Linked DNA regions of Homo sapiens: region 1 is linked to region 2. The links are contacts of gene promoters, found by promoter capture Hi-C in blood cells and fetal thymus (Javierre and others, 2016). All regions are on one chromosome and are shown on one strand. Each heading gives the region's core, a stretch centred on a gene start or on the middle of the fragment in contact. The rest is flanking DNA. Distances are from core to core; before and after follow the strand shown.

The links. The method cuts DNA at HindIII sites, captures the fragments that hold promoters and counts their contacts. A CHiCAGO score of 5 or more calls a contact.
Region 1: a fragment that was not itself captured here is called in contact with the fragment with the promoter of EIF2B4 in region 2 in 1 of 17 cell types (fetal thymus); the score reaches 6.0 in fetal thymus.

What each region holds. Positions count from the first base shown.
Region 1 is chr2:25,877,907-25,880,606 of GRCh38, reverse strand. It overlaps ASXL2 (ASXL transcriptional regulator 2), which reads left to right and starts at 2,120. Exons shown (of 13, transcript NM_018263.6): 1 at 2,120-2,441. The coding sequence starts at 2,385. RefSeq lists a silencer at 1,941-2,100. The HindIII fragment of the contact is 1,072 bases long and covers 785-1,856 here.
Region 2 is chr2:27,369,033-27,371,732 of GRCh38, reverse strand. EIF2B4 (eukaryotic translation initiation factor 2B subunit delta) reads left to right here and starts at 1,395. Exons shown (of 13, transcript NM_001034116.2): 1 at 1,395-1,449; 2 at 1,814-1,857; 3 at 2,184-2,319; 4 at 2,521-2,700. The coding sequence starts at 1,419. SNX17 (sorting nexin 17) reads right to left here and starts at 1,117. Exons shown (of 15, transcript NM_014748.4): 1 at 927-1,117; 2 at 390-464. The coding sequence starts at 989. RefSeq lists enhancers at 735-824, 1,045-1,104, 226-1,187, 1,125-1,214, 1,435-1,714 and 1 more. The HindIII fragment of the contact is 1,836 bases long and covers 217-2,052 here.

The DNA of each region.
Region 1 (2,700 bases), core at 71-2,570, 1.5 Mb after region 2:
CTTAGTAGGGTAGTGGGTGGAGTTTTAAGAAGATAGATTTGGCATTCCCTGTAGGATGGGCTTGAGTAGGGTGAGAAAAGAAACAGACTATCTAAGGAAATCCAGAAGGAGGGTGGGGATGATGAGAGAGATGCAAATACACATAACAAATTCAATCAATAGACATGGGGACAAAATACTTTTTGGGGAATTATACTTTTATAATAATAATAAACTATCTGTATCTGTGGAAGATTAAGAAGTAGGAACCACAACATCACAATCCCTACCCTTGAAATTCAAACCTGGGGATAGAGCTCCAGAAATGCAAAGTAAGGACCCTAGTAAGGTCTGAAAACCAGTTGGGGCTCCAGGACCAAACAACAGGACTGGATGATAAGCTGTACTCAGCTCAACAGCCAGGGATGGAGAAGACCTTTTTTTCTCTTCTCTCTTTCTCTTTCTTTCTCTCTGTCTCTCTTTCTTTTTTGAGACAGAGTCTTGCTCTGTTGCCCAGGCTGGAGTGTAATGGCGCGATCTCTGGGCTCACTGCAACCTCTGCCTCCCAGGTTCAAGCGATTCTCCTGCCTCAGCCTCCCAAGTAGCTGGGATTACAGGCGCATGCCACCAGGCCCAGCTAATTTTTGTATTTTTAGTAGAGATGGGGTTTCTCCATGTTGGCCAGGCTTGTCTTGAACTCTTGGCCTCAAGTGATCTGACCACCTCAGCCTCCCAAAATGCTGGGATTACAGGCGTGAGCCACCGCACCTGGCGAGAAGGCCTTCTTAGACTACAGACATAAGCTTTGGAGGGAGGTGGTACATACTACCTGTGTAATGCATAAGGCTATGAATTACCAAAGACATTTGGGAAAATATATCCATATCAATTGCTGAAATAGGCTGTTTGATCCATGACTGAACGGAAATATAAGGAAGTATCTAGATACTTCTAGATGGCCTCTCAAACTCCCTTTAATATCTTTTTCTCTTTTTTTTTTGCACAACAGATCCTTTTTGAAAAATGGAGGAAAAGTTATGAATCCTCTTAAAAAATTCACATATAACACACAAAATATAGTTCATAATTTTAGGGAGTCCATGAATTTCTGAAACGCATCCATAAACTTTAAGTATTGCTCTCACCTGTCTTTCCTCCCAAGAGGCAATCCAATCCTCAGTCCTATTTCACACTATAGTAAGTTTACTGGATTGTTTGGAAGCAGCTTCTGGAAGCAGGTGGATTTGGGAGATCAGCAGTTGTTACTACATTCTTCTTACTTTGCAAGGTATCAAGGTGTAGATGATGTAAGAGAAGATGCCACATTCTGGATCTTTCAGAAAGCTGTTACGGATACTACAAATAATGGTCTCTGACCACAGAAATAGGTGAATCATTCAGCAAATATTTACTGGGCGCCTGATATGTACAGGCACTATGCTAGGGACTGAGCTCACCGAAATAAAGAAGACACCATTTCTGTCATTGATGAGTAGCTTCACATGTAAAAGCATGGATGCAGTTACTGGTGGCCTTAAAAACAAAGTCACCTAAGTTTGAGGCATTCTGGGGAGATGGAAAGGGCTCTGAGCTGGCAATTTGATTTTTGGTTTCTCTACATCCCAGACTTATGAGCTTGGCAAGTCACTCAATCTCAGTTGCTTCGCCTATCGAATGGGGTTAATAGGCAGACGAGAATTGTTGCCTATCTTCAAAAAGATAACCTCTGTAAAAATGCAAATAAATGAGAAAACACAAACGCAGGGCTGATCTAAAGTGATAGTTGGCAGAGCCACCCACTGAGGGAAGAGTTCAGCTCCCCAGGTCTACACAGCCTGTGCAGCGCCTCGCAAGAGGCGGGATCCGCTCAGTAAGCTTTCCCGGATGGCACAGGTTCCGCTTCCGCAGGCAGATATTCGCTGTAGGTGTGAGCGCCAGGCGTCAGACTACAGCTACTGCCGGGGCCTCCTTGGCGCGCATGCTCCTGCGGAGAGGCGGAGACCGGAAGGGCGGGGGCGTGGCGAGGTACCGCAGACCGCCGGCTCGATAGCTCAGCGGCCGGGCTTGGGAGGCGGGGGCGCGCCCGCGCTCGTTCGCGCGGCCGGCTGCGTACAGTAGTGACGGCCGCGCGGGAGCGGTCACATGACCGTAGCGGCAGCCTGTACAGTAAGAACCCAATATGGCAGCGGCGGTAGCAGTGGCAACGGCAGCAAGAGGACCGGCCGCCCCATAGACCCCCCCGCGCACCACCCCCGCCGCTTCCTCTGCTTGGGTGCCCCCCCGGTCTGACTTCCCTTTTCTCCCACCTTTCCCGGCACCGCGGGAAAAGCAGCGCAGGGCAGAGCAGGCAGGGAGGGCGGCCGGAGCCCGGACACGGGAGCCTCCCAGTCAGTTCAAGACCCGACATGAGGGAAAAGGGACGTAGGAAGAAGGGCAGGACCTGGGCGGAGGCCGCCAAGACGGTAAGGGGGAGGGAGCGAAGGGGAAGGCCGGGAGGATTTTGTTCCCTTGTCGCCCGCCAGTCGCAGGGAAAGGGAGGTCACTGGCCCAGGGACCCGGCTGAAGGGGCACAAAACCGCGCGGAGAGGGCGGCGGTTAGTGTCGGGGTTGCGATCCCTGTGGGAATGGAGGCGCCCGGCGGAACGTGATAGCCGCGGGGCCGTGGCGTCCCTCGGCGTCTGCGGCGAGTCCTCTCAGTGTTTTGAGGCTGTCTTTTGGGGT
Region 2 (2,700 bases), core at 146-2,645:
AAAAGGAAATCGGTGAATCGTTTGTATAAGCAGGGAAAAGAATTTCAAGTTGCCGCTCAGATGACAGAAGGAATGTGCTTTGACAGCCTGGGTGGAGGTAGTGGGGGGAGGGGTTGGTTTGTCCATGCAGGGGTAAAGGCTACTAGAGCAGTAAGACTGGACAGAAAACCAGAATATAAGAACAGGAAGGAGCAGTTGTTGCGCGGACATTAAGCTTCTTAGGGAGTTCCCGGAAATGTCAGACAAGATAAACCAGGGCCCTACCCTGTGGCAGTGATTAAAGGGGAACTACAGCCTACGGGAACAAGAAGAGCGGGTAAAGGGAGACACTGATGTCCACGTGTAGGGAAGGGCTTGAAGCTGTCTCAAGGCAGGGGTGCTAGTCCCACCTGCTCGTGCAGCCCCAGGAGCTGGCTGTAGCGCACCCGACAGTGCAGGACTCCATTCACGTGAATGTTATAGGCCTGAGGACACAAAAGTAGTCAAGCATTTTAGGGTTGCGGTCTGCGCAACCCCCCTGAGAACCCTGGCCGGAAGTTGCCTGGCAACTCGCCGGAGTAACGCGCTAATCTCCCGAGGGATAGTTCGCTTGTTTTCGCCAGGGCCAAGTCCCAAAGCTGAAGAGCCAGTCCGGGGGAAATTCGGACGCTTGTGTTGCAGTCTCACTGCCCAAGAGGCCAGTGACGCCCACCAGGGCAGCTGCGGCCTAGCTCGGGGAAGCGACCCGGCCTAAGGGCCTACAGGAGCTCGGGCGACCACTGCACGAATCACACACATGAGATAAGCTCCCAGAGAGGCCGTCGGGAGTCGGCGGCCCAGGACCAGGCCCGAAGGGTGGCGGTCAGGCCTCAGAGGCCGCTCCGAGATGGCTCGGGCCCGTTATCCCCGCCCCTGCCCGGCCCGGCTCGGCTCCGGCCGCTCCTCACCACGTAGGCGGAGCCGCCGCTGTCCCCGCTGCGGGACTCGGTTTCGGGAATGGAAAAGTGCATGTTCCCTACGGCACGGCACGGCCGGGCTCCGGACTGTGAGGGCCGCAGCGGCTCTGCACGCTCCCCCTCCGCTGCTCAGCGAGTCCCCGCAGCCTCACTCGCCATTTTGGGAGCCCTGCGATCCGATGTGGGAAGGCGGTGGGACGTCGGTTCTGGGACGCAATCGCCTGGGCATGCTGGGAACTGTAGTCTAAAGGGCAAGAGCCACCTGTCCGGATAGGGAGCCCAAAGTGGAGTTGGCCCTCATTGCAACCCGTAGTGCGGGGCGGGGCCTCGGGGCCCGTCGGAAATTGTAGTCCGATTGGGGCTGCGCGCTTCGCTTCTGCGGCTCAGCCTCCAGCCCAGGTGGCGCTGTGGACCCTGCAGCCGCGGAGCGAGGCAGCGGGGCGGCTCCGTGACCACGGCGGGCGGAGCCTAGGACTGAGGGCGATGGCTGCTGTGGCCGTGGCTGTTCGCGAGGGTGAGTGAAGAGCCGGGCCTGCCTACTGGTACGCGGAGCCGACGAGCTCCGGACAGCTAGTGCCGGGCCTTGAGCGCCTTTGGGCCCCGCCGCTCCGTTCCAGCGCCACGCTGGGCTCCGGTCTACACAGTCTCGAGCGCAGTCCCGCGCCGCGCACCGGCTGGTTGCTGTGAGGAGGGTCGGTGACCCCTCCATTCCTTTGATCCGCCGCGCAGTGCGTCCCCACGCGGATCCCTGGCTCGCCTCGCGCCTGCCGGCGGATCCGTGGTCATGCCAACCCAGCAGCCGGCTGCGCCGAGTACTCGTGCCCCCAAACCCTCCCGGAGTCTCTCTGGCTCACTTTGTGCCCTGTTTTCTGATGCAGACTCGGGATCCGGGATGAAGGCGGAGCTTCCCCCTGGGCCTGGGGTAAGTGAGGCTTCCCTCCCAAGCCGCCTGCCAAGCGCTACGCAGGAGGCTGTGCCAGCTTTATTCCGCCCCAGCTCCCATCCCGTGTCGGTTTATTTCTCAGTAAAGCCAGGAGATTTTACAGAGGTCTTGCAACCCTAGGGATATATGATTCTGTCCCTGGAGGAGAAACGTCAGCCTCTGTGGATGTAAGCTTGCAACAGGTAGCTTGTGGAAGTTAGGAAGAACTAGGGATTTAACCATGTGGAAATCTTGTAAGCATCCAATAGTATTTGTTCCCCTTTGGAATTGTTGGGGAAGAGCAGTATCCTATGTCTGTGTCTCAGGCAGTGGGGAGGGAAATGACCAAAGAAGAAAAGCTGCAGCTTCGGAAGGAAAAGAAACAGCAGAAGAAGAAACGGAAGGAAGAAAAGGGGGCAGAACCAGAGACTGGCTCTGCTGTATCTGCAGCCCAATGTCAAGGTGAGTGAGGGGTCTCTTTTAAAGGGCTGGGGTGTGGAGCTGGTAGAGGGATGTGGTGGGAGAGATAAGGGAGAGACAGGACAAAGTTGATTTGAGCAAGTGTGTAAAGCAAAGAGGTTTACAAGGAGAGAAGCTAGTTTTAGCTGGGGCACGGATATCACCTGCCTGCAGCTTGGGCATTTTTTTTTTTAATGCTTTTAGTAGGCCCAACCAGAGAACTGCCAGAATCGGGCATTCAGTTGGGCACTCCTCGGGAGAAAGTTCCAGCTGGTCGGAGTAAGGCCGAACTTCGGGCTGAGCGTCGAGCCAAGCAGGAGGCCGAGCGGGCCCTGAAACAGGCAAGAAAAGGGGAACAAGGAGGACCACCTCCTAAGGCCAGCC